7 separate regions of the Homo sapiens genome follow, and regions 1, 2, 4, 5, 6 and 7 are each linked to region 3. Evidence: promoter capture Hi-C in 16 types of primary human blood cells and fetal thymus (Javierre and others, 2016). All regions are on one chromosome and are shown on one strand. The core of a region is centred on a gene start or on the middle of the fragment in contact, and the rest is flanking DNA. Distances in the headings are between cores, read along the strand shown. Region 1 has its middle 10 kb from the start of CRADD. Region 2 overlaps MRPL42 (mitochondrial ribosomal protein L42). Region 3 holds the start of RLIG1 (RNA 5'-phosphate and 3'-OH ligase 1). Region 4 overlaps METTL25 (methyltransferase like 25). Region 5 holds the start of SOCS2-AS1 (SOCS2 antisense RNA 1). Region 6 overlaps SNRPF-DT (SNRPF divergent transcript). Region 7 has its middle 11 kb from the start of CCDC59.

Region 1 (4,016 bases), core at 1,487-3,986, 5.6 Mb after region 3:
TTAGAGCCCAGTGCCACCATTACTGGCTGCATGCTTAGAAGAGAAACTTGACCATGCTAAGATCCAATTTACTCTAGGGCATGTAGTAGTACCTGTCTGTTGTGAAGATTAAATCAGATAATCTGCATACAAGTGCTTTATCAGAATACCTGGCTATGCAGGTTCTAGGTCTGCTTGACCTTGAATGTATGCCTTGTCTTTCCCCTGACTTGCTCTGCATGCCGAGTTTCCTGGGCTGTGTGTTGTCTGATTTCCAGTTGGGTTCAGCCAAGAGGAGGCAACAGCAAAATATTGGAGAGCCAAGGAAGAGAGAGAAGCCTAGCTGTTATACCCTGAATCTCTTCTAGCCTTTTGTTGTTGTTCATTTTGTATCTGTTTTCTTCTGACTTTTGTTTTCCTCATCAACCTTTTTTTTCTCTCTTTTTTTTCCTGAAGGTATAGTTCATTGCCTATCCTAGCTCTATACAAGATGGTCTCCAATTCAGCTTCCCAACCTCCATGAGTCCAGGGCTTTACTTCCAGCCTTCCTCTCCCCCTACTCCCACTCTGCTACCCACTTCACCCACTGCTGCTAAATTTTTAGCCCTATAATTTGTAGGTGAGTATCAGGTGTACAAGGCTCAGCCACCTCCCTGGACTCATGCACCCACTCTGGTCATGGCCTCAGAGCAATTTTCTTATTTTTTGTAGGCTTATGCATTCATAAAAGAGTAACTTTTATATTTTATCTTGCATTTTTAACATTGTGTAGCATTAGGTTGCAGGATCTCTTATCCACCATGTTGCCAGAGATGTTGAAACTATTTTTTATAGTATTAAGCATTTAGTAAACTCTATTATGTTTTTCCAGGCTTTTGGTCATTTTGATAAATTTCTTCTTTATTTGTAAAAGTTTCTGCTATCGTTTGAATATTTGTGTTCCATCAAAATTCCTATGTTGAAATTGAATCCCCAATGTGATGGTATTAGGAGGTGGAGCCTTTGGGAGGTGATTAGGTCATGAGGGCGGAGCCCTCATGGAGGGGATTAGTGTCCTTATAAAAGAAGTCCCAGAGAACTAGTTCATCCCCTCTACCATGTAAAGACACAGTAAGAAGGTGACATCTCTGAGCCAGACAGCAGGCCTTCCCCAGACACCAAATCTGCCAGTGCCTTAATCTTGAACTTCTCAGCCTCTAGACATGTGTGAAATTAAATTTTTGTTATTTACAAGTCATCAAGTTCATGATATTTTGTTATAGCTGTCCAAATGAACTAAGATAGCTCCAAATTAAAATAAATGCTTTATATATAATTAAAAGGAGTTATCTCAAGCAGGCAGATGCTTGCAGTCATTTTTCTGTTGTCTGGGGTAGCTGTTGGAATTCTGGGTGACATGGCTCTTTATATAGAACTATCCCTTGGATTACAGGCCATTTATACTAACATTCTTGTCCACTAGACACCAAATGCCAGGAGATTTCTCTAATCATTATGACAACCCCCCAAAAAATCTTCATACATTTCCAAATGTCGGCACTTCCTGTTGAGAGTCACTAGGGAAAAAAGCACCCATTGACAGTGTCCATCTGCAGGACTTTTACTGTTCAAATGCGCCATATGTTACAGTTCCACCTGTGACAATTTTTGAAGAGATCATTGATCATAAATGTATAGTAATTTTGTCTTGTTTTGTTTTTCCTGGAGACATTAAGGTGAAACGATGCCTACTGCTCATTATATGGGCGACTGGTCTCTTCGAAAAATGTTTTATAAAATATAAGGTCCAGAAAAAATATGTCCACATCAATATCATAAACTTGGCATCATTTTGAAAGTTTGAGATCAGGTGTGTTAACTCAGTTAAGATGATTGTAAGGACCACTGCTGAGATTCAGATTGAAAACTAAATTTAGGGCCGGATGCGGTGGCTCACGCCTGTAATCCCAGCACTTTGGGAGGCCAAGACGGGTGGATCACTTGAGGTCAGGAGTTCGAGAGCAGTCTGGCCAACGTGGTGAAACCCGGTCTCTACTAAAAAAAAAAAAAAAAAAAAAATCAGCCAGGCGTGGTGGTGCATACCTGTAGTCCCAGCTACTTGGGAGGCTGAGGTGGGAGAATTGCTTCAACCAGGGAGGCGGAGGTTTCAGTGAGCTGAGATTGTGCCATTGCATTCCAGCCTGGGCAACAGAGCAAGAATCCGTCTCAAACAAAAAAAAAAAAAGAAAGAAAATTGAATTTGGTAAACAATGTAATTTCATTCTATAGGCTACTAGCCCCTCAACCACAAGTCACTTTACCTCTCTGTGCCTCACTGTTCCCTTTCATAAAATTAGGTGCCATTTCTTAGTTCTTTTCCATTTCCAGAATTCTGTGATTATATTATGGTGCACATTCTATGTAATAGTTTGTATTTTTTTCAAAGAGATATCATATATACTAGCTCACTTGATCCTTACAAGAACCCAATCCTTCTGTATGTAAAAAGAAAATTTTGTCAAGTATCAACTTTGGAGGCCTGAATCTTAGAAAATGTGTAATAATCATTGTACAGGTTCAGCAGGACACTCAGATATTTATTAATTAACTAACTGAAGAAATGCTGTTTTGGCTAATGTCTTGCTGTGCTCACAGCATATGCGTCATGGGAAGAATGCTCTTGTATAGCCAAGCTTTGATGTCCATGTGCTCTCAAAGGAAACCACACAAATGCTGCAGCCTTTTAGGGGAGAGCCATGGGGCTCTACATTGAGGCTAAGCTGCCCTGACCTTACTTTGCTGGATGAGTGTTCTAGGGAATCTGGCCAATCTGAAAGGAACATTCATATTAATATGGTAATAAAAAGCTTGGGACTCTGGAATAAGCCTGACTTTTATTTGAATCCTGGCTTTGCCACTTAACTAGTTATAGTTACTTTATAAGGCTGTACAAGGATGGAATTAAATTCAGTGAGCTAATATGTGAAAAAATGTCCAGTTTCTGGCATGTAATAAATGTTCAATGATTGTTAACTAAAAAATATTAGGGTGGGAGCTGTCAAAGGAAATTGGATAATTTAAATTTAGTCTCAATGAATCTATTACTTACATAAAAACTGTGTTGTTCTGCATTCTGCTCATCTTTCACGTTCAAATACACATTAGGCTTATTCACTAATTGATTCATTAATTTCTTAATTCAATGACTATTTATTGAGCACCTATTATGTGTCAAACTCTATTATAAATAAACACTGGAAATGCAGAAGCAAACAAGACATTAAGAGTCCCTACTCTTATGGACGTGCATTTTAATGGGGAGTGACAGAAAATATCCTCCTTCCCAATAAAAAAACAAACAAATAAGAAAATTAACTGGTAATGATAAATGCTAAGAAAAACATGAAATTAGGCAATGTGATAGACTCTGGGGAGCAATTTTAGATTGGGTGTTCAAGGAAGGCCTCTCTATGGATGAAAAGATGAAGCAAAGTTCCGGGGTCCAAGCAAGATATGATGTAGAAGAGAGTAGAGGTGGTTAGGATGGAGAGAGGCGAATGGGTTAGGGGATGATGTAGAGGAAGAGCAATAGTACTTATTGATGGGTCGGACAGTAGGTGTGAGGGACAGAGAGGAATTAAGGAGGAGCCCTGAAGTCTTTGACTTGAGTGGATGGTGGTACCATTTACAGAAGTGGAGCAGGCTGAGTAGAGTAAATTGGGAGTGAGAGGATCAGGAGTCTGGTTTGGGAAAGATTAAGTTTGAAGTGCCTATTGAACTCCAGTGGAGGTGTCAAGTAGACAACTGGATACACAAGGTCATAGCGAAACATTTGGGGGATTTTTGCCTTTAGATAATATTTAATGGAGTGGGCGGGATGAGAATGGTTAGGGGAAAGAGCACACTCTCACTTCTCGACAATGGGAGTTAAAAAAGAGAAGAGGTTCCTGGTATATTCTTACATTTTCAGGTATCTATGACTCATAACAAAAGCTTACAGTAATAAAATACAGTCCTCATAGAATTACCCACATGGAAATAAATTGATAGGAAATTCT
Region 2 (3,840 bases), core at 249-2,748, 5.4 Mb after region 3:
GTTAACTCTCAAAATATCTAGTTAACTAAGAATTAGGTTACCCTAGAAAATCATTCCATTATCAGTTATCCTAATACTCAGTGACCTAACTTCTTATATCCGAAAAGTCCCTTATACTGCAAAGTTCCTGTTGCTACTATTATTGAAAGTAAAGGGCTGGGCAGGGTGGCTCACACCTGTAATACCAGCACTTTGGCAGGCTGAAGCAGGCTCTGAAGTTTGAGACCAGGCTGGGCAACATAGGAAACCTCATTTCTACAAAAGTTACAAAAATTAGCTGGGCGAGGTGGTACACGCCTGTGGTCCCAGGAGGGAGCCAGCTTACTCAGGAGGCTGAGGTAGGAAGATTGCTTGAGCCCAGGAGTTCGAGGCTGTGATTGTGCCATTGTACTCCAGCCTGGGAGACAGAGTGAGACCCTGTCTCAAAAATAAAAAATTAAAATTAAAGAAAGTTTCATTACTGTTATTATTGATGTTTAATAAAAAAGGGAAGGACAGTAAGATTGGAGGCAAAGCGAAATCATGATTAAGGAAGAAAGTTCAGTGAGCAAAAATAAAAAGCCTTCCTTATATTCTAGAAGGAATATTTTAAAATTTCCCAAATGGTCAGTCAGCCCGGGAGTGTAGAACACTTCACAGTTTTCAAAGCATGTTAAGCCATTTGATCCTTATAACAGCTTTGATTTTGGTAGCCCATGTAGTATTATCCTCTTTATGAAGGTAAAGAAACTTGAGTTCTGTGGCCCTCATAAGTTCACCCAGGGTCACATATTTGGTAAACAAAAACTGTGACCAAAATCTGGATCTCCCACCTTACTTTGTCCTGTATACTTTCTACTGTACTTCCTTTTCTGTAGCAAGGTAAAATACTGAGCATTTGAAGATGGGACAACTTTTAGCTTTCATAGCTCTTTCAAAATGCAATTAAATATATATATGTAACAAGAATAACTCATAAATTACAGAAATTATTGTTAATTGAAATTCTTTTGGCACATTGAGCTTAATTGCTGTTAACTTTGGCATTGGTCCTAATTATATATTTAGAGCTTCTGCTACTTCTATATCCAGAATTACTTCCATTGGTAAAATATCAGGTAATGAATGTTTCCTTATTTTTTTTTCAAGGTGAAGTCTCACTCTGTTGCCCAGGCTGGAGTGCAGTGGTGCAGTCTTGGCCCACTGCAGCTTCGACCTCCCTGGGCTCAGGTGATCCTGCTATCTCAGTCTCCCAAGTAAGCAAGACTACAGATGTGTACTACCATGTCTGGTTATTTATTTATTTATTTATTTTTGAGATGGAGTTTCACTCTTGTTGCCCAGGCTGGAGTGCAATGGCATGATCTTGGCCCACTGCAACCTCCGCCTCCCAGATTCAAGTGATTTTCCTGCCTCAGCCTCCCAAGTAGCTGGGATTATAGGCATGTACCACCATGCCCGGCTAATTTTGTATTTTTAGTAGAGATGGGGTTCCACCATGTTGATCAGGCTGGTCTCGATCTCCTGACCTCAGGTGATCTACCCACCTCAGCCTCCCAAAGTGCTGGGATTACAGACGTGAGCCACTACGCTTGGCCTATGTTTTGTATTTCTTTGTAGAGATGGAGTTTTGCCATGTTGCCCAGGCTGGTCTTGAACTCCTGGGTTCAAGTGATCCACCTGCCTCAGCCTCCCAAAGTTCTGGTATTACAGGCGTGAGCCACCATGCCCAGTCCTTATGAATTTTTCAAACATCAGTTATGCAGAAACATTTGAGAGGCAGTTCGGCAATCACTTTTTAATGTGTAGGCACTATAGGGGACACAGTAATGAACAAGGTACAGTTCCTGGCCTTAAGGAACTTATTTAGACTTGTAGGTGAAACAGACATCTAGCAACACTAAGAATGCCCAGAATATGAGGCAGAATGTGATAAGTGTGTCATGAGGGCACAAACAAATGTCTGTGTAAACACAGAGTAGAAATTTTACTGAGTTTCTTGTTAACTAAAATACTGTTGTCTTGAGTTTTCTTGTCTGCATATTTCAGAACACTTAATTCTGTCACCCAGTCATGTTTCTTTCAGTGAAAATGTATATCATCTAGTTGGTTTATATTCAGAGATACAAAATTGTTTTTTTTTAATTTATATTTTTTATTATTAATTTTTTTTTAATAGAGATGGGGTCTCACTATATGACCCAACTATGTTGCCCAGGCTGGTCTTGAACTGCTGGATCAAGCGATCCTGCTGCCTTGGCCTCGCAAAGCGCTGAGATTACAGGAGTGAGCCACCACACCCCACCAGTTTTAATTTTTTTAGAAACGATTTTGCTCTGTTGCCCAGGCTAGAATTCAGTGGCACAATCATAGTTCATTGCAGCCTCACCCTCCTAGGTTCAAGTGATCCTTCAGCTTCAGCCACCTGAGTAGCTGGGATTATAGGTGCATGCCACCATGCCCAGTTAATTTTTAAAAATAGTTTTTAAAGATAATATCTCACTGTGTTGCCCAGGCTGGTCTCAAACTCCTGGCCTTGAGCAGTGTTGGCCTCCCAAAGTGTTGAGATTACAGGCGTGAGCTACCATGCCTAGCTTTATAAACTTCTTTTAATATTAACCCAATCCATGCATAATTAGGAAGGTCCCAGTGATGTCAAACAAGAAAATAAAATATGGCCAGGTGCAGTGGCTCACACTGGTAATCCCAGCACTTTGGGAGGCCAAGGCGGGCTGGGCTGATCACCCAAGGTCAGGAGTTCAGGACCAGCCTGGCCAATATAGTGAAACCCTGTCTCTACCAAAAATACAAAAATTAGCCGGACATGGTGGGCGCCTGTAATCTCAGCTACTCGAGGGACTGAGGTAGGAGAATTGCTTGAACATGGGAGGCGGAGGTTGCAATGAGCTGAGATAGACAACTCTTTCTTCTGTGAAGAACCTTGGGGGCAGGGAGAGTAAAAAGGATTTCATGGAAGAAGAGTGTTTGACCTTTTTTTTTTTGAGATGAAGTCTCACTCTCGCCCAGGCTGGAGTGCAATGGCACGATCTTGTCTCACGGCAACTTCTGCCTCCCGGGTTCAAGTGATTCTCCTGTCTTAGCCTCCCGAGTAGCTGGGATTACAGGCATGCACCACCACACCCGGCTAATTTTTTGTATTTTTAATAGAGAGGGGGTTTCACCATGTTGGCCAGGCTGGTCTTGAACTCCTGACCTCAAGTGATCCACCTGCCCTGGCCTCCCAAAGTGCTGGGATTACAGGCATGAGCCACTGCGCCTGGCGAATATTTGACTTTTAAGGATGAGGGGTATTTGAACAAAATGGGGCTGGAATTCCATACTGAGGACATGGTAAAGGCATGGAGATAGGGAAGGCAGGATAGGTTACAGTTCTATATCACAGGAACAAGAGGCTCTGTTGAGACTTTGATTCTTGGCATTGACCAAGGTGCATTCAAAACTTGCTTTTAACTATATTGAGCTACTTTTAAATTTTTTTCTTTATATTAAAAGAATACCCTTTTTTGAACATAGGAGAATCTTTCACAAGCTTTTAAAAAAGCAGTTTATAGCTGAGCACGGTGGCTCACACCTGTAATCCCAGCACTTTGGGAGGCCGAGGCAGGTGGATCACGAGGTCAGGAGATCGAGACCATCCTGGCTAACACGGCGAACCCCGTCTCTACTAAAAATACAAAAAAATTAGCCAGGCGTGGTGGGGGCCTGTAGTCCCAGCTACTTGGGAGGCTGAGGCAGGAGAATGGCGTGAACCTGGGAGGCGGAGCTTGCAGTGAGCAGAGATCGCACCACTGCACTCCAGCCTGGGAGACAGAGCAAGACTCCGTCTCAAAAACAAAACAA
Region 3 (4,046 bases), core at 150-2,649:
GTGACAGTTGATAGTTGTGAAAGTTGTTGTCTCTGAGATTCGTGAAACACGCCGCTTTTTAGAATGCCTCTGAAAGAACAAAGAAGTCACTGGCACTCGACTATAATATGCTAAAAAGTTTCTGGTTCCAACAGCACACAGCCAGCATCAGGTGTTTTCTTTTTTGATAAATGCAGGCGGGGTGTGATGTGGGAGAACATTTTGTGTTTTCCTGTGAGAAAAAGATAGTAGAAAAGAAAGTAAACACTTTGAAATGGCAAATCTCTTTCTTCCTCCCTCCCCTCTGAATCCAGTAATCAAAAAACTGTGAACTTTTTTTAAATTTTATTTTTTTTCACTGTCAGTATTCAATATAACTGTGAACTTTTTAAAGGAAGATGTTTTATTCTTTGAGAACCCCCTTACTAGTTAGATACCTCTAAGTGAGATATAGTTGTTTAATTTTTCCAAGGGCTAAGTCAGTAACATGCTGGACAGTTGAGTACATGCAGATAAGACAAAGAAATGAGACCTGGGCCTAGTCCAAGCCCATAAAGGATGGCAGTAAAGTCAAAATTCCCCTACAACTTCAGGCTAGGAACTACTACATTCAATGAGATGGAAAGGCTACTATTCCTAAATATTTAGTATTTATTTTATTTAGTCATTGTCCATCTTATCACTTACCCTCAAAATATTCTTTTGAGCAGTAAGTTAAGGCTGTTTTTAGCTCGCAGTTGATTGACTACCATTACTCAAGCCATTTGGGCTGTTGGAGCTCACCTTTAATTAAACAAGATTCTTATGAAAAACTTGAGAATGAAATCTGGTTGTAGGTATTCCTGTACTTTTGGATTAGTCTAAGGCTGAAATTTCGCACTCACTCCGAAAAGAACATCAGAATCATTTCGACCATGCTATGCTGCACAATAAGGAGTAGTTCAAACGACAACTTTTTTTGATCCCAGGTGTTTTATTATAGGGTTTTCTGATAGTCTTACCGGAAAGGAAGTTTTCATTCTGCTTGGGAATCTGGGGATGTCTCTAGCCATTTCTAAACTTCTACAGTGCTTCCCCCACGAACTAAAGATAACAGGCAAGCAGTTTCCATTGGAACTGTGTTAAATCGACATCTGAAATGTTCATTGCTTATAATTTGATCTTATTTAATTTCCCAAAAAATCATTAGTTACTAGGTATTGCTAAGTACCCACGTTCGGGAAACGCATCTTTTTTTTTTTTTTTTCACGGTTATTAAAACCGAGGGTGGGGGGCGGAGGACGCACGTGGGAACCCACCAGGCGCCTCAGCTTCTGCACTACAACTCCCAGAAGGCGCCGCGGCCAGGAAGCCGCTTCTGGACGGGCGTTCCCGCCCCTCGCTGGGCTTGGTAGTTGGGGCGCAGCCGCGGTGGCTGGGCGCGGAGTGTGCGTGGCCTGAGCCGTGCGGGTGACTGCTTCAGGGCTTCTCCGCGACTGGACCGGGCGCCGCTCGAAAGCACGCCCTCCATTCGCACTGCTTGTTGGGCTCATCATGAAGCGCTTGGGCTCCGTGCAGCGGAAAATGCCGTGTGTGTTTGTGACGGAGGTGAAAGAGGAGCCTTCCTCCAAAAGGGAGCATCAGGTACGGAGGAGCGCCGGGCAGGCTTGGCGGCCCGCGTGGGCTCCTCCCCGCGGCGCTGGCTCAGTGCGAACCCGGCGAGGGCGGCTGGGCGCTTTAGAACTGCCCTGCAGGCCAGGAACCTCTGTAGGTTTCCCTGGGGAGGTCTGGGGTGGGAGTTCCGTACGCCCTGAGCTCCAGGTTCTTGTACTTTTCTTAGTTGTGAGGGAGGGAATTTGCGAAAGAATTTTCCTTATCAGGAGATTCAAACTTGTCCTCGCAAGGAAATGGATAACTCACATCCACAGCATGTCCCTTCCTTTTCAGGTCAGCACCTTTTGGGGAAACCCCCTAATCAGGTAATTGCCACAGTCCAAGCTTTACTACTTTTCAAGAGTGCAGTAAGAAAGGGTGGATATTAGAAGACTTGCTTTACCTGTTCTGTCCGAACCAGTGGCGGTGTTGACAGTAGCCTAATTAGGTCACTGAAGTTCACACCTCATATTACCAGTAATTACTTAATTTATTCTAACTTTGGTGTTCTCAAGGTTTTCTGTTGCAGCAACGTGTTTTCCATAGTGTGCCCTCGGTAAATGCTAGTGAGTAACCTATATTTGGGTAATTTTTTCATATTGTACTATAAAACGTTGTAGTCTTTGATCAGTAGAATCCCCAGTGATTAGTTGGGTGCTTCCCAACTTTGCTGATTTCAAACAAAACCAACATGTCCATTGGAAATCCACCTCACTTGAGTTTCATCATTGGCACTGGCTTTCTCGTCTTCTGGACTAAAACTTGTTTAAGGCAAAGATTGCCCTGTTATCTTTAGTCCCAGCTTCTAGGACCTGGCACGTGGTAGGCACTGGATAAATATTTGTTGAATTAAAGAATGAACCCTGGAATCATTTCATGCCAGTTTTCCATTCACCTTGATGCTTTTTACCTTATAGCATCTGATCTTTTCCTGCTTTCTAGTGCTGTCACAGCTGTTACAGTTAATATTTCATGTCCTGCTCATTGCACCACCTAACTGGTCTTACTTGCCACTCAGACTGATCATCACCATGTTCTTTCCTCGTCAGAATACCACAGTTATTACTCAATGTTTGTAGCAGTAATTGGCTTTTTTTTTTAGCTGTAACAAATGTAATCCATATGAAACATTATCATCTGTTTTAGTATTTCACTCTACTGTGATTTTCAACTTCGTATGTTTGAGGGGAGTAGTTTGTGAAAGTATTCTCCACCAGGGAAAATAAGCAGCCCCTTCTCTTACCTCTCTGCAGTTAAGAACAGCTTACAGTATCGTTTATAGCATAGCATCCACATTCTTAATTATAATTCAGGGCCTCCCACTAATGAGGCTCAATCTACCTTCCATCGTCCTTAAAGTGGATTCTGTTTTAACCATCTATTTCATCCTGTGAACATATCAACCACAATCCTGTCTCATATTTTTGCTCAGACTGTTCACTCTGGATCACCTCTAGAGTGTTTTTAATTTTTCAAGTCAGTTCTTCTCCATAAAATCTTATCAATTTAGCCATTTCAGTGATTTCCCCTACCCAGAAATTGTAGAGGGCCACTCAATTGATATTCACTATTTTAATACACGTACCTTGTTTTTCCGGTAATAGTCTAAAGCCTTTTATGACAGGTGGAGAAGGAGAACTTTGTGTACCCCTCAGTGTCTCGTGTTGTCCTTTGGATATGTCGATAGCAAAGAGCAGATGATTGATTTTTATGGAAGGAATGTTTATACTCATCAGGAGCTCCATGGGGCAGAGTAATCTTCCCCCCCACATAGGATCTTTGATAAATTTAGATACACACACACTGCTATTGGACCAGACCCTGTGGCTCTACCACCCTGGGTTAAATTGATATCCTTTGAAACCAGCATCATAAGTTAGTGAAAACCAGTTGTATTTTTAAAGTACTGAATCCCTACTAGACGATTATATTTTAAAAGTATTGAATCAGTACTAGAAGGGGCTAATTTCTTAGTTTACCTGTTTGCAATAGTGCATAAGTCTTAAGCTCACACACAGCAGTATGTTTATATTGTACAGTGTTGTTTCACTTTGTAAGATGATGCTACTTCAGATACAGACTATAGAAGTGGCATAAGTCTTTTTCAGAAATGAAAATAAATTATAGATAAAAAGTTAGTAGGAACCCAAGAAACTGCCTTTTCCTCATCCTTGGTGCCCTTCTTCTTCCTGACAGTAGAAAAACCATAAATTAAATATGTAAACAGCTGACTACTGATAAAGCTGAAAGGGACAAAAAGTGAGTACTCTCAAAGCAAACAAACTCAAAGGAAAAACAAAAGGCAAGTGATTCTTACTAGTTTTAACGGTGAAAATTGTTAGGGGAAAAACATGAAAAAAACAAAATCAACTTCAAATCTTGAGTACTCATGGTGCAAAGACATAGAACTAAAATGGTTCTGAAGTATACGGTAT
Region 4 (4,034 bases), core at 241-2,740, 5.7 Mb before region 3:
GGGGTCAAATATTGACTCCAGCACTTAGTAGCTGTGCTAACTTGGGCAATTTACTTCAACTCGTTGTACATTAGTTCCTCATCTGTAAAATGGGGGTAACTTTAGTACCTGCCTGATGGGATACTGTGAAAGGTAATTCAGCTAATATATAGAAAGGGATATCTTTCACGTGAAGTGAACAGCAGGTGCCCAAGCTGGAGCACGCTTGGTGCATTTTAAACACAGCTGAGCAGTCTTGGTGAGACCGGTGAGAGATGGCATTTGGAGGTAGCCCAGGACATCCTCACATAAAACTTGTAGGCTGTACTCAGTATTTGGCTTTTATTCTGAGTGAAATGCGAAGCTCTTTGAGAATTTTGTGTGGTGATGTGATACCGTGTGATTTATGTTTCAAATCACCTGGTTTCTGTGTGGAGAAGAGAAGGTAAGAAAGGTGAAGGAAATTAAGGGAAGAAACAGGAATACAATATAAGAGGCTATTAAAATAGTCCAGGGACATTTCAAGGAACAGTAGCTTGAAGAGGTCAGATTCCCCTGCAGATAACAATGATGAAAACTGGCCAGATTATTAAAAACAACTGTAAGATTCTGGAAAATGCCAAAGGCAGAAATATAAGAAGAGGTTACTATTGAAAGACTGTGATTGATTGGGTAGGAAGTCAGAGTTTATGGCTTTCTTGCTAGAGATGCTCCTAGCCCCTGTAGATCTAGCAGTGGAATACCACATCCTTACCAGGTCAAGGTGGTGATGGCAAAATTCAGAGATCGGAGCAGGTGCAAATTTAAGACGTACATTCTGGAAACAGGAGATACAAAAGGTCTGAGATCTAAGATCTGAGTATAAACGCTGCCTGAATCCCCAAATGATCTCTTAACTCCACATGCCTGGGAGACCTAGAGATCCTAGCAGAAACACTGGCAAAAAACTTTTGAGAGGCAGAGCTTCCCCTGGCTAGAGATCCCACAAGTTTGCTGCACCTTCAACAGAGTGTATTTCCTAAAGTACATACAACTTGGGTGGTAAATATCAGAAGCCTTATTGAATTCTTGTATGAAAGGGCAAAATTCAAGTTTGGCAGAGCAACTGGAAATTTACACTAGGGAGTCTTTGAATTGTAAAAAAAGGAACTACAGAAAGGGTGAGCCTCAAAATCTGACTAGAAAATCTACCCAAATCTTTATCTGACTGCTAAACTCTGCAGGCTCAGGTATACCACCAGACAGTGGGTAAATAAAAAGCAACTAAGCAGAGACATCAGCTGCTGCACTCTGAAGGGGGGATAGTTTTCACAGTTTGAGTCAAAACAAGTTGACTTCCCACTATTAATAGAACAACAACCACCACAAATCCTTAGGAAAACAAAATAGATTCACTACAATAAAGTATCTGCCATTCCATTTTTCAACTAAAAAAAACTAGATGTTTAAAAAAAAAAAAAAGGAAAGTGTGACTCTAACTTAGGAAACTAATTCCAAGTAAGCCCTAATGCTGGATTTTAGTACCTATGATGAAAGAATTGAAGGATAGTGTGACCCGTATTTAGGAAAAAAAGAGTAAGTCAATAAGTGCTGATCCTAATTGGGCTAACGTGTTGGATTTCAGTGGCTGTTATAAATATGTTTAAAGAGCTCCAAGAAAATACACTGGGAGAATTAAAGGAAACTATGGTATTAAGGAATATTTAATTATAGTACCTACTTTATGCCCCTTTGAAATGAAAAGTACACACTTACCGACACACAATTGTATTAATGTTATGTATTATCTATTGCTGCATAACAAGTGGTTTAAACCTATACTATCTCATCAGTTTTTGTGGGTCAGGAATTCAGGAGCAGATTAACTGGGTGGATCTGGTTTGGGATCTTAAGAGGTCACAGTCAAGAAGTTGGCTGGGGCTGTAGTTGCTGAAGGCTTGATTGAGGCTGAAATATTTGCCTCTGTGATTATCTCATTCACATAGGTGGCCATAATATTTCATTCGCATAGGTGGCCATAATATCTCATTCACGGAGGTGGCTAGTTGGTGCAGGCTGTTGGCATGAGGTCTCAGTTTCATACCATGTGAACTTTTCCTACGGGGATGCTTTTGTGGCAACTTTGTGTTTACATGACGTTCTTGTTTTTGTCTGCACTCAGACATGATTATGAAGTTGGCATGGTCACAAACCTTGTCTGATGTTGGTGTACTGAGAAATTTTTCATGTTTAGTAGGAAAGACTGTGGCCTACATGTTAGTTCAAGGTCAGCTATGAGCTGACATCTGTCTGTTACATCTGGGGTTTTTTCTTTCCTTTTTTAAAAGTAGGGATAATATTACCTACCTTCTAGGACAGCAAAGATTAAAGATGATGTATACATAGCACCTAGCATAGAACTGAGAATATAGCATGGGTTAATAAATTGTGGCTAATACATGATTGTGATGGTTGTGATGATGATTGGTAGTGATGGTATAATTAGGTCTTTACTTGGAAGAAATAAATTGTCCAGAGTTCCTGGAAGTTTATGTTCTAAACAAATATATTTTTTGCCATATTAATAAATAACATACTATTGTTATTGTCTGTTGGCTTGTCTGTATCTGCAACTAAATTATAAACTATCAAAAAACAAAGGTACAATGTTTGTCTTTTTCACTATTTTCAGCATCATAAACAGTTTCTGTTTATAGATGAGTAAATTAAATGATTCTATTTTTACATTAAAATTGTTTATTTTTAATTGGCAAATAAAAATTATGTATGTTTATTGTGTACATCATGTTTAAATAATTCTTGAAAGAATGAAGTTAAACATAGATCTAATAAAGAGTCTTATTGAAGGCACTCCTTGCACATACCTAGTACTCAACTAGACATATATTATTTCTGGTTGATCCCTGAGTTATATTTATGATCATTGTGTATGATAATAAATATTAGTTATATGATCCAACTAATAGATTTTTAAATTTATTTGAAGAGACACAAATCAATAACTGTTCTTTCCCTATGTGGAAATATAGTACTTTATTTAGTACATTACAGATTACAATAAAATACCCTGGGAATTTGGACATAAAATCAGAACAAGTATCACTTCAGGTTAAAATGTCTAAAAGTTAGTACATAATATAGGCGAGATTAACCATCTGCAGCAAAAAAGCCAGTAGAGACAGCTTCTAAATATTTTGCTGATAGGATAAATATGACCTATATCTTATTTTGGAGATTAAGATTTCATTATAGCTCCTTCAAGGAAACCAGACTGTGTTCTTGGGAAGTAATGACTGTAAGTGTAAATCTGTAACATTCTCAGCAGAATCATCATTGATCTTCAGAAATTAATTGTTGTTTAATGGAATCTAGAAAATTCTTCTGAAAAGCAAGAGGGGAGAGATAGTCTAAGTCAGGATAGCTAAAATATTTTATGAAACAGAAATAGATCAAAACAACAGAAGCAACTTAAGCAGCTTACTTAGCTTGCTGAAAATTTTAAGAATATCTGGCCTCGGCCGGGCGCGGTGGCTCACGCCTGCAATCCCAGCACTTTGGGAGGCCGAGGCGGGGGGATCACGAGGTCAGGAGATCGACACCCTCCTGGCTAACACAGTGAAACCCCGTCTCTACTAAAAATACAAAAAATCAGCCAGACATGGTGGCGGGCACCTGTAGTCCCAGCTACTCGGGAGGTTGAGGCAGGAGAATGGTGTGAACCCAGGAGGCAGAGCTTGCAGTGAGCCGAGACTGCGCCACTGCACACCAGCTTGGACAACAGAGTGAGATTCCGTCTCAAAAAAATTTAAAAAAATTTTAAAAAAAAGAATACCTGGCCTCATTTGTTCTCATTGTAATTCTAAAATTAGGAGACTATCCTAACAAATGAGTGTTACAGATTATTGTTATAGGTATATTTCTCAGTGGAAACTAATACATTTGTATTTCAAAGTCAACATCTTATAATGTTATTTAAATTAGCTGGGGATAGCCTAATGAACTCTCAGGAATTCCAGCTTCTGTGCCTGCCAAAGCATAGGGATCCTCTAAGGCAC
Region 5 (3,630 bases), core at 857-3,356, 5.5 Mb after region 3:
AGTTAACCCTAGTAGACATAGTGGTTCTTAAAAGGCTTGGGGCCTCAGACTGTACACAGGCTTCACATGGAATCTGATTTGTTCCTTTATCCCAGTCCCTCACCCAGAACCCGAATCTAGCCCTTCATGTTATAAAAAGGGCCAGAGGTCCAAAGAGGGTAAGTGCCTTGTGCAAAATTATTCAACTACTTTGTAGAGGATTTTAACTAGGGTTCAGTTAGCTCCGCCCACACTATAAAAGGCTCTTTCTAAAAAACGAAACATGATTAAGGGCACACGGCTCCAGCGTTAACAAAGCTCTTTGTTAGCTGGGAAATGCCCCCCTCCCCGACTCATCTGCTTATCATCTGCATAGAATTATGTACTCAAAAGCAGGAAAATTATTGAGAAAACCATTGGTCCCCGGCTGCAGACCCCAAGGTTGGGAGCTGGTTCCCGTTTCCTCCCAGAGCCGGCAGGGGGGGCACCAGGCAAAGTTTGCAAGACGCGCCTCCCTCCCACCCCTCCCCCTTCCTCGCCCAACTTCCCATAGCCGCGGCCTCAACTAAAAGTGGCCATTGACCTTTCAAGCTTTCGAGCAGTGATGCAATAGAATAGTATTTCAAAGAAAAATGCTTATCGAAATTTTGGATCCGGTTTTCCCGTGATTGTTAAGGGTTTCTTTTAAAAAGTAGGTCACATTTCAAGTAGGTCATATTTCGGGGGCGGGTGCGCAGACAAGGAGATGAGTTTCCACTAAGGCCAGGGGGCCTCCAACGGGGTTGGAGGTGAGAATCCCAGGTAGGGTAGAGGTGCCGAGATCCTTCCGAATCCCAGCCCTGGGGCGTCAGCCCTGCAGGGAATGGCAGAGACACTCTCCGGACTGAGGGAACCGAGGCCAGTCACCAAGCCCCTTCCGGGCGCGCAGGTAAGGGCGCCCCCTTAGCAGCCGGCGCAGGTGACCCGGGCGGGCCGCCGGGTCTACCGGAGACGTTGGAGCAGAGGGGAGGAGGAAGGGAGGAGCCGGGTGGGTGCGGGTGACAAGGAGCCGGAGCGCCAGGGGGAGGGGACTAAGGACGGCCGGCGCCGCTTAAGGAGGCGCTGCTCTCCCGCTCGCTGCCTTCCAGGACCTGATCAAGGGGACCGCCTCCGGTCCCCGGCCGTGGGCACCGGGACGAGCACGGCGTCCCCACGCCATCGATGTGTCTTAGAGCCGGAGAGTCTGGTTTCCGAGGACCCACAGTCGCTCCTGCACGCCCACCCCCCGCAAAAGTGCGGCCAGGAGGGTCGCATCGAGGGGGCGCCGCCGGGATGTTTAGAGGAACCCACCCCCGTGGCAGGCCAAGGGCCAAGGATCGCTATCCTTCCCTGAACCCGGGCGCTCAGCTGGCCCGGGTAGGGGGCAGGCTCCGGCCGCCGAAACGGGGTTGGCTGTAGCCGGTGGCCGGGGAGATCTCTAGCTTGCGCCCGAGCACCCCGGGGTGTGGGGCCAGAGGCAGGCCGACCCCGGCGTGCACACCGCCCGCCCTGCACCCGAGCGCTCTCACCCGGTCTTCCCTGAAGCCTGTGTATTGCGACCGAGCCTCTTTAAAGCAGTAGCGGGGCCCGCGGTCACGTGAGGCCGATTCCTGGAAAGTTCCTGGAAAGCCGCCTCCGCAGCAGCCGGGCGGGGCGCGAGCGGAGCGCTGACTGGGGAGGGAGGCGGGGAGCAAGGGAGGCGCGTCGGTCTGGGAAGTCGCGCGCACTCGCTGCTCCTGGGACCGACGTTTAACTCTTGCCAAGTCTCGTCGCAGCCGCCGCGGCTGGCGGGCCTTGGGCTTCCCCTGAAGCATGAGCCCTCTCGCCCGCAGCCACCCTCACCGCGTGGCCCGCGGACAGTGCGCGCCGGGGTCCCGGGTGCACAGCCTCAGGATACCCCGTGCCCGCAGCTCGGGCGCCCGCGGCAGGTACCGGTAGTGGGGGAAGCCCGAAGGCTCCGCCCCGAGGAGAGTTACCGGGGAGGGCGGCGAGGCGCGGCCGCGTGCGCCGGGGAGCGGCGGACGGCCTGGGCTTCCGCAGCTCGGAGCGCCGGGGAAGAGAGAGTCCGAACCGCGGCTCTGCCCCGCGGCCTAGCGTTGCTGCCTGCTTTCTCCAGCCCCTTCTCGGCGTCTGGAAGTGTCTGGAGTTTCTTTTTTTTATTTCCCCTAAACTGCCATTCAAATTAATAATCCTCCTAATAACCTGATCTCCCGCTCCTCCCCACCGGCCTGCCTCCCGCCCTCGCTCCTTCCTCCCTCCCTCCCTCTCTCCTTCCCACCTCCAGGGTCGCAGCCGGAGGGAAACCCGGCAGCAGTCCGAGAGTGGAGGTGTCCCAGCCCGTAGGGGGCGTCGCCGCGCGGTGGGGGATGGGGTCGAGGCAATGATCCTCGAGGCTTTTGTGTGCCCTCTGCGCACGGAACTCCGACCGCCGCCTCCGAGCGCGGGGCTGGTTGCATCCCCGGGCATCTCGTTCCCAAATTAAACGTTAACGGGGGAAACAAGGGCAGACGCCCCTCCTCTCCCGGGCCCCTCCCACCTCCCCTTTTCCCCCCACCCCCCCGCCCCATGTCCGCTGAGGAGGCTGCCTGGTGCGGAGGCGGCGGCGGCGGCCGCGGCCGAGGTCGAGGTAAGAGCGCGGCGTTGGTGGTTTGCATTTTCCGCAGCGCTCGCGACCGCCCGCTCGGCCCCGGCCTCGCCTCGGAGCCCCGCGAGGGCTGCGCGCTCGGGCCGATTCCTCGACAGCGCCCGCGGCGGCGAGAACCACCGCAGCCATCCTGGTCCGGGAGCGACCGCCGCGGCACCCCCAACCCCGCCAGAGCGGGCACCAGGAAGCGGGGGGAGGGGAGCGAGGAGCCTCCCGGGCGGAGATGCGGCAGCTCCCGCACCTCCGCACCCCGGGTTGGTGCCTCGGGGCCCCGCAGCGCTTTAGGGCGGAGAACCAAGTTTGTGTGGGTGCTTCTTCCTGGGGGCCCTCGGGCTGCGCCAGGTGTGAGACCGGAATGCCAATTTGGGGAATCTCTCCTGTTCTTTCCTTTTTAATTTTTTCTACTTGTCCTTGACAAGGGCCTATTCCCACTGGATCTGCAGGTGACTATTTGCTCTTCCTAGGTCGCCAGTCTTTGATTTCAGCTAGTGACCCTGGGCGGGAAGACACCCTGTTCACCCTCCTCCTGACCTCCGCCCCCCACCTCTTCAGCCAACTTTATCTTGGATCTCTGCTCTCTTTATCTTTTCTCTAGAGCTGGGCCAGGGCGCTAACTGGAAGCTTGGGGTTAAATGGTGCAGGAACGTAGAGGCGGAGGAGTCCCTGGGATTTTCCACGTCTATTTCCCCACCCCCACCCCAGCCGCAGGGGTCCAGTTTGGACTGACCCAACCTCCCGCTTTCTCTTTGTAGGCGATCAGTGGGTGACCGCGGCTGCGAGGGACTTTGTCATCCGTCCTCCAGGATCTGGGGAGAAAGAGCCCCATCCCTTCTCTCTCTGCCACCATTTCGGACACCCCGCAGGGACTCGTTTTGGGATTCGCACTGACTTCAAGGAAGGACGCGAACCCTTCTCTGACCCCAGCTCGGGCGGCCACCTGTCTTTGCCGCGGTGACCCTTCTCTCATGACCCTGCGGTGCCTTGAGCCC
Region 6 (3,933 bases), core at 821-3,320, 7.8 Mb after region 3:
AGAATCCTTTTCCATCCTCCCTTGCAGCCAGTGTGGCCGTGTGACCAGGTTCTGGTCAACATGCTATGAGGAAAAGAATTGTGCAGCCACTTCCAGAAAATTTCCTTTAAAGATAGCTGGTGCTTGCCCTTTTTTCCCTCCTTCCTCCATTTAACCCTTCGACTACGTATGTGGTAGTTAGAGCTCCATCTGGGATGATGAAGATGAGGGTCATAGCCTAAGAGGGCAGATCAAAAGCTAGGGGCAGTCAGGGTCTCTGAAGATTTCAAGCAGCAAAGCGTCACCCCAGTATTGAACTATTCACCTTTACAAAAGAGGTCAATAAACTTTCTTTTTGTTAGGCACTTCTTGTGTTACTACAGAGATATATCTGAGGCTGGGTAATTTATAAGAAAAGATGTTTAATTGGCTCACAGTTCTGCAGGCTGTACAAAAAGCATAGCGCCGGCATCAGCTTCTGGGGAGGCCTCAGGAAGCTTCCAACCATGGCAAAAGGCAAAGAGGGAATGGCGGCGTCTCACATGGCAGGAAGGGGAGCAAGAGAGAGAGGACCTGGAGGTGCCACACACTTTTAAACAACCAGATCTCGCAGGAACTCACTCAATATCATGAGGACAGCATCAAGCCATAAAGGATCTGCCCTCGTGACCCAAACACCTCTCACTAAGCCCCATCTCCAACTTTGGGGATTACATTTCAGCATAAGATTTAGGGGGACATATATCCAAACTGTATGATTCAACTGGTTTAAATCATCCTTAATTTGGGTCTTTGTTAATCATAGCTGAGCATAATCCCAACCTAATTACCCTCTATAAATTATAGTTCCTTTCCTCAATCCTAACTAAGTCTCCTTCCATAAATAACAGCTCCCTCTCTCATCCTTAATCTTTTTGCTTTAATTTGCCTTAAAATCTACCAGTCTATCCTGTTTACTTTACTTCAGTAAGACTTTAATATACTGATAAATAATAGGTTCTTTCCTAAGAGTTAATCACCATATTTATGAACTTCTCTTAAAATATTGACTATATGATTTTTTATAAGAGATTTTTTTTTACCTTCAGTCACACACTTCTCAAATGATTTTTCTAGCATTGTGTATTTTATTAGATCAATTTGTGATATAATTCCTTTGCTCTTATTTCGGCCACCCATGAAATAGAAGAGATAGAATAGAAATGGAAGGCTAGGCATGGTGGCTCATGCTTGTAATCCTAGCACTTTGGAAGCCAAGGCAGGCGGATCATCTGAGGTCAGGAGTTCGAGACCAGCCTAGCCAACATGTTGAAACCCTGTCTCAACTAAAAATACAAAAATTAGCCAGGTGTGGTGATGCATGACTGTAATCCCAGCTACCTGGGAGGCTGAGGCAGGAGAATCTCTTGAACCCAGGAGGCAAAGTTTGCAGTGAGCTGAAATCGCACCATTGCAGTCCAGCCTGGGCAACAGAGCAAGACTCTGTCTCAAAAAAAAAAAAAAAAAAAGAAATGGAAAGAGAAAAGGAAACTGGAAAAGAATAAGAAGAATAGCCCTTCCTCACAATTTTCACATTAAAATAGTATCACATAATAAAGCTTGACTAAATTTTTTTTTTATTTACTTGGAATACTGGTATACTGAAACAATTGGAGGGTGTCCAGAAAAAATTAAAATTCTTTCCCTCTATATTTTTTCTTTTGTATTAGTTTTTATTATAAACATCAGTTTAAAGGGGATTTATAGTTTGCTTCTGTCTATCCTTCATTTCTGAATAATCCTGTCTAAAAGTATGAGGTGGGGCTGAGCAAAGTGGGAATGGGGAGGTCAGCGCGCTCTGGAGTGGTGGCCCAGTTCATGCTGTTAGAGTCAGGCAAGGCTGTCTTGCTGGGTTGGGTGGGAGGGGGGATGGTAGTGGTGATGGAAGTTTGGTTACATGGAGGGGATTGATCAGATAAGTAAACAAATTGAGGATGAAGGGAGACAGTTTTCTAACTGTTGGGGAAGGGACTACAAATATGGAAACTGAAAAAACTAAAATAAGCCATGTGGTGTTGAACTGGAATTTTCAATAGCGATATTGAAACAAGTATGGATATGGTCATATATGCATGCATGTATGTATGTATACACATGCATACGTTCTCTAGTTTTGTCCAGTGAGAGGGACTGGAAGCACCAACACCCCCCTACCAAGGAGCGTGCCTATTGTCTAGACCAATCTTTAGTTTCCTAAATGCCATTCTCCACTAAAACGAAGCAGTGTTTTTTGGAGAATTGACTGATTCCAGGTTTGGGACAGGGAACATCTTATTGGGACAGAAAATAAGGAAATGCTCAAAGAATGAGGATGACATGTCAAAAGAACACAGAAGACAGCTTAATGGGGGATCCCCCTGTCCAAATATGTGACAATTAAGGCAGAGAAATAACAATAGTAACAGATTATAAATTCATGTAATAAAATAGAAATTCATGAGTCCTTAAAATAAAGAGCATCAAAATAAGTAATCATGACATGATTAACCCACTAAATAAAATAGAATCTATGAGTCCATACTGATATAAATAAGTGGGAAAAGGAGAAAGCTTTTCTTACAGTGGAATGCCAACTGATGCATGGAGAAGAAATGATGGAGTCAGAAAATCACCATTTGGCAGCCAGCATAAGTAACTGATTTAGCTCAGAAATACAGTGGATGCTAATATGCAGTAGGTGAAAGTTTGAGGAGGAATGAGATAACTACATAGCCTCAAAGTACCTTCACAAAATACTTCTTAATAATACAATTTTAAAAGGTAACTTTGCAATGAAGAAACCTGGCAGATAGTTCCCTAATCAAGAAGTTAAGGCTAATAGCACAAGTAATGGAGCCAATAGAATATATAGGCTATCTAGGGCCGGGCGCGGTGGCTCATGCCTGTAATCCCAGCACTTTGGGAAGCCGAGGCGGGTGGATCACAAGGTCAGGAGATCGAGCCCATCCTGGCGAACACGGTGAAACCCCGTCTCTACTAAAAATACAAAAAAAGTTAGCCGGGCGCAGTGGCGGGCGCCTGTAGTCCCAGCTACTCGGGAGGCTGATGCAGGAGAATGCTCTACTGTTCAGTATATTCCATTCTTTTGAGTAAGAAGGGTGGACACCCTGATTCCACCCCCCTTTTTTTTGGCATATATATATATATGTTTGAATTGGTGCAAATTTTTAAAGTCCAAGTCTCTCAAGTCAGTTATTCATTAATTTATTCATTCCAGAAATTTGCCATTATGTGCCAGGGAACTAATTATGTGCTAGTAAATGACTAGTAATAGCAACAAAGGGTTAATGAATAAAATACCTTTTTCTCTAAAAGAGAGTGTAGTTAGTGCTAAAACAGGTGGGGTAGAGCCCATGTGACAGAACAATTAGTTACCTAGGGAAGTCAGAGAAAGCTTCAGATATGAAGTGCCCATTTGAGTGGGGCCATGGAGATTAGATGAGGAGGCATTTTTCAGGCAAAGCAAATGGGGAGGGATTTCTAGGTGGTAAGAACGTCCTGTGTAAGTACGTGGAGTTGTGAGAAAAAGCATGGCCGGCGGTGCAAGGGCCAGCTTTGCGGTTCATGGGACAGAAGGGAAAGAGATGAAGGAGTTTGTTTTAGGCTGCTAGTCATGGGTAACCAACAAAGGTTACCCATATCCAACTAAAATGTCCAGGTCTTCGGTTTGTTTTGAAGGAAAGGAGGTCAGATACCTCTGGCAACAGGGTAATAGATGAGGAAGTAGAATAAGCTTTATTTTTTAAAATTGGATTCAATGGAGACATTTGAGGGGTGAAGGAGGTGGGGGGAGACTGTATGGCACAGGATACTATGGGGAAAATTCCATGAGGTTTTGTTTTGTTTCCTTTAGTGTTTTGAGAACAGTGAAGTCCTATTTGTACTGATTAACTTTGAAGTGCTTATGTGGCAAAC
Region 7 (4,086 bases), core at 91-2,590, 5.7 Mb before region 3:
TTATGCTTATTCTCATGAAATGAGTATTTCCGTTTGGGAATGTATGGTTTAATATTTTAACAACTGTGACAGTGTTAGCTCTTTGGCAAGGAAAAGCATCTATCCAGCCAGAAACTTTTACCAACAATAACTAATGTGTATACATAGCCTAAAGATTTAGGCAGTTGTATAAAGCCTATCTGCAAAACCTCAAGAGTCTTGAGTAGAGGAACTGAACCATGCCTCACCTTAACAGATGTACCTGGATTATGCTTGTTATCTACCATTACTTATTTAATGCAAAAGTAGTTTTTTTAATTCTATAACGTGAACAATCATAGAATAATCTGACCTGGGTTCATTGGTGGGATTGTGGTGCTATGGGGCACTAAATCCCAAAATTGCCAAAATCTATCTTTATGGAAAGGGGATCCCCAACTTTGCCTTTCAGAAGGTTGAGCTAATCACTGTAAGTCAACCATAGCCAGTTTAAATTGAGACAATACTTCTTTTGAAAGTTTGGTGGAGAGAGATGTCCATTTTAAAGCATCCCTTTTAGCTGCGATGTGAAAAGCAGCTCATTTAGATGTAACCTTGCAAGACCACTGCCCTCAGATTTTGATCTGCGTATGCACTTCTATCTTAATAACTAGGATCTCCTTGTGAGTTTTTAATCACTTTCACTAAAACATTAATATTTTTCCACTGGTAGTCAAAATATCTTAAGAGGTCATAAATCCTTCCAGTTTTCATAACATTCCAAAATCATGAACAATTCTTAAAAGCACATCTGTTCTCTTTTTGTCTTTTGCCACAATACAAGCTTTAGTCAGAGCTATTAATTCAGCTACCTGGGAAGATAGAATACAATGTAATGAGCTGCTTTAATGGCTGCATTTTCAGTGGATACAGAAAGAAGAGGATGCCATTGTCATTTTTTAAAGTAAAAACCCATCTATAAACTATATTAAATCAGAATTAACTAAAAAGGTGTTTGTAAGGTCTGACCTGGGTATGCTTAATTCCTGAGTTATTGCTATAGTCATGTTTTCCCTTCATCTTGAAGAATTCCAGTTATAAGAGTACAATTTGTACAATGGTAAATAGTGATGCACAAAGAATAAAAGGGCTTCATAAATGTAAAAGTTGTTGATAGATAAATGTCGAGTGTTGCCTAGAAGTAACAGTGATTGCCCAGTACATGCAAACCACAGAGTTAATGAAAAGTAAATGCCACATTGGCAGAAGCTTTCACCAGTTTGGCAGCTGCTGCCACCTCCTGCAAACATGAAAATTGGGTTAGATCTTAGTTACCAAACCAAGGGATATGCTAAGAGAGACAATAAACAGGCTTCTCTTGAGTTAATATTCCCAATGCATCATCTTGTCTTTCTTGAACAAGAGAGAGAAGGTTTTTAGATGATTTAGGGATACCCAAAGTGGGATGTTGTTAAAGAGAAGAATTCGAAGATGAGAAAGCTTCTTCTACTTTTATATCACACGAGAAAGTCTCAGGAATTGTTGTCATAGTAAGTTCATAAGAAGACTGAGCAACTTTTAAAAAAATAGGTATTTATTGCTTGCAATAACCAGTCAATCCTAAAAATTTTTTCATTGTCTTTTAATTTAGAGCTTTAGTAAAATGGAATTTTCTTTGTTTTGGTGTACGAAAAATACCCATGTACTGACAGATCATGACTCAAATAATTTGTTCAGTTTCTTGGCAAAATCACTTTTCTCTAGATTCCTTATGCCCCTTTTCAGCTAATCTTGAAAAGAAATATGGAGTCTCTGTGAAATACTTAGATCAAGAGGGCACTGCAAAATATCATCTACATATTGTGTGAGAATGGACCCTCAAAGAAAAGTCATTTTGTTTAGATTGAAAACAAATTGATGAGGAGTCCATAAATCCAATATGTGGTATAGTAGACCCCTCTTATCAGTGGGACATATGTTTCAAGACCCCTAGAGGATGCATAAAACCATGGATAGAACCAAACTCTATATACATATTATTATTATTTTTTGATCTAAAACCCAGATGGCTACTAAGTGCCTAAGACAGATAGCATACACTGCTGGGATACGCTGGATATGATTCACATTTCAGGGAGGACAGAATGAGATGGTGTGAGATTTCATCATGTTACTCACAACAACATACAATTTAAAACTTAGGAATCTGGAATTTTCCATTTAATATTTTTGGATTGCAGTTGGCCACACGTAACTGAAACTTTGAAAAGCAAAACCAGGGATGCAGAGGGTTGGGTGGGGGGTGGAGCAACTATGGTATATAGCCACATATGCTGTTAATTTTCCCACAAAAACAGTGAACAAATGTTAACTGTATCTACATGTGTACTAAAGAATGCTGCACATACATCTACCACTATGAAATAAATATTTACTTCTTCAGCAATTGGATGACAAGACAGGTTCCTATTGGAAACTACCAGGAATCTAGAAATCATAATTTTATTGCTTACCCTGAGTTCTTGAATAAATGGGTATCCTTTCTTGATAGGCTTCTTAAACGGCTATATGGGAAGATTGCAAGGATGAGATATGGCTGTCCTTATTCTTATAAAGACTCAATAATAGATTTTATTCCTGTGATTTCTTCAGGTTTGTGTAGATATTGGAATGACGTTGGTGGGGGGTTATAAGGATTTATTTGAACCTTACTTGGTCAATTGCAAATATTTCTCTCATCAGTAGAATCTTTAGCCTGAAGACTAGAAGTAGTCTGATCTAACAGTGCACCAGGAGAGTCCAACAGATGCAAAGGATCTGCTGTAATTTGGGTTGTTCCAATGTGCTGCCTTCTGGTGTACTTTAATTCCATAACACCATTACAGAGTGAGTGGCAATAATTTAGTTGGAGCAATAAGTTAGTTGTAGTTAGTTTCACACAACTGAAACTGGGAAAAGTTACAAGTCTGGTAAAATCATAGCCTATCAGTGTTTGCTGGAGACATCCTCCCCAGTTATTTTATTTGTTCTCTGAAGAACAGACTGAGATAAAGTGGTGAAATTTAAGGTAGAAAATACAGCATGCATATCCTCTAGGAACTGGAAGGCCGACCCTGCAAATAGATAAAACACAGAGCAGACAATGGGGTGTTACTGAGGTCCTTAGAGGAGTGTCATTGTTGGACCACTAATTTGACTTCATAGGCTCCTTATCCGTTTTACCAGGAAGCTCCTTTTCCAGTACCCAGTCATTTTACAGGTGTCATATTTCCCAAAAATGTTAAATACTAACTACCATGTGTCTCAGTCATTCTACTCCTAGGTAGTTACCTAACAGAAATTAAAGTGTATGCCCGTAGAAGACTTATATACAAATGTTCATAATAGCTTTATTTTTAAGAGCCAGGCCAGGAGTGGTGGGTCACACCTGTAATTCCAGCACTTTGGGAGGCCAAGGAGGGCTAATCACTTGAGGTCAGGAGTTCGTGACCAGCCTGGTCAACGTCACAAAACCCTGTCTCCACTAAAAATACAAAAATTAGTCAGGTGTGGTAGCATGCGTCTGTAATCTCAGCTACTTGAGAGGCTGAGGAAGGAGAATCATATGAACCCAGGCAGTGGAGGTTGCAGTGAGCTGAGAATGCACTGGTGCACTCCAGCCTGAGCAACAGAGTGAGACTGAGTCTCAAAAAAAAAAAAAAGAATGCCTATCATGCCTATCAGCAGGTGAATGGATAAACAAATTGTCTATGTCCATACAATAGAACACTCAGCAATACAAAGGAGCAAACTTTTGATAAATCCAACAACATGGATGAATCTCCAAATAATTATGCTGACTTAAAGAGGCCCAGACAAAAAAGTTTATAGTATATGATCCTGATTATATAAAAATTTTGAAAATGCATACTAGTGACAGAGCAGATTAGTGGCTGCCTGGGATTGACTACAACAGGCCATGAGGAAACGTTAGGAAGTGATGGTGATAGGTAGTTGATTGCCGTGATGGTTTCATGAGCATATGCAAGTGTCAAGAGTCACCAAATTGAACATTTTATGTATGCTCAGTCAATTATACCTCAATAAATCTTTTTGTAAAACCCAAGGTCATCAGGCCCATAAGTAGCA

The links. The method cuts DNA at HindIII sites, captures the fragments that hold promoters and counts their contacts. A CHiCAGO score of 5 or more calls a contact.
Region 1: a fragment that was not itself captured here is called in contact with the fragment with the promoter of RLIG1 in region 3 in 1 of 17 cell types (total CD8 T cells); the score reaches 6.8 in total CD8 T cells.
Region 2: a fragment that was not itself captured here is called in contact with the fragment with the promoter of RLIG1 in region 3 in 1 of 17 cell types (naive CD8 T cells); the score reaches 6.6 in naive CD8 T cells.
Region 4: a contact is called between a fragment that was not itself captured here and the fragment with the promoter of RLIG1 in region 3, in 1 of 17 cell types (naive CD8 T cells). The highest score is 6.8, in naive CD8 T cells.
Region 5: a contact is called between the fragment with the promoter of SOCS2-AS1 here and the fragment with the promoter of RLIG1 in region 3, in 2 of 17 cell types (non-activated CD4 T cells and total CD8 T cells). The highest score is 8.0, in non-activated CD4 T cells.
Region 6: a fragment that was not itself captured here is called in contact with the fragment with the promoter of RLIG1 in region 3 in 1 of 17 cell types (naive CD8 T cells); the score reaches 5.3 in naive CD8 T cells.
Region 7: a fragment that was not itself captured here is called in contact with the fragment with the promoter of RLIG1 in region 3 in 2 of 17 cell types (total CD8 T cells and naive B cells); the score reaches 7.0 in total CD8 T cells.

What each region holds. Positions count from the first base shown.
Region 1 is chr12:93,665,166-93,669,181 of GRCh38, forward strand. No RefSeq gene overlaps it. Among named protein-coding and RNA genes, the nearest start is that of CRADD, 10 kb to the right of the region's middle. The HindIII fragment of the contact is 174 bases long and covers 2,650-2,823 here.
Region 2 is chr12:93,472,154-93,475,993 of GRCh38, forward strand. The region is part of intron 2 of MRPL42 (mitochondrial ribosomal protein L42); the gene reads left to right. Among named protein-coding and RNA genes, the nearest start is that of MRPL42, 6.6 kb to the left of the region's middle. The HindIII fragment of the contact is 4,058 bases long and covers 1-3,527 here.
Region 3 is chr12:88,034,137-88,038,182 of GRCh38, forward strand. RLIG1 (RNA 5'-phosphate and 3'-OH ligase 1) reads left to right here and starts at 1,400. Exons shown (of 7, transcript NM_001009894.3): 1 at 1,400-1,602. The coding sequence starts at 1,513. It overlaps LOC107984542 (a long non-coding RNA gene), which reads right to left and starts at 1,360. Exons shown (of 3, transcript XR_007063395.1): 1 at 1,278-1,360; 2 at 1-211. The HindIII fragment of the contact is 2,128 bases long and covers 1-1,954 here.
Region 4 is chr12:82,362,306-82,366,339 of GRCh38, forward strand. The region is part of intron 1 of METTL25 (methyltransferase like 25); the gene reads left to right. Among named protein-coding and RNA genes, the nearest start is that of METTL25, 5.8 kb to the left of the region's middle. The HindIII fragment of the contact is 5,535 bases long and covers 1-4,034 here.
Region 5 is chr12:93,569,292-93,572,921 of GRCh38, forward strand. SOCS2-AS1 (SOCS2 antisense RNA 1) reads right to left here and starts at 2,107. Exons shown (of 4, transcript NR_038263.1): 1 at 1,974-2,107. SOCS2 (suppressor of cytokine signaling 2) reads left to right here and starts at 3,384. Exons shown (of 2, transcript NM_001270471.2): 1 at 3,384-3,630. The coding sequence starts at 3,607. RefSeq lists silencers at 1,151-1,200, 1,261-1,450, 1,821-2,100, 2,461-2,510, 2,521-2,830. The HindIII fragment of the contact is 2,692 bases long and covers 569-3,260 here.
Region 6 is chr12:95,845,267-95,849,199 of GRCh38, forward strand. The region is part of intron 1 of SNRPF-DT (SNRPF divergent transcript); the gene reads right to left. Among named protein-coding and RNA genes, the nearest start is that of SNRPF-DT, 12 kb to the right of the region's middle. The HindIII fragment of the contact is 991 bases long and covers 1,576-2,566 here.
Region 7 is chr12:82,345,034-82,349,119 of GRCh38, forward strand. No RefSeq gene overlaps it. Among named protein-coding and RNA genes, the nearest start is that of CCDC59, 11 kb to the right of the region's middle. The HindIII fragment of the contact is 231 bases long and covers 1,226-1,456 here.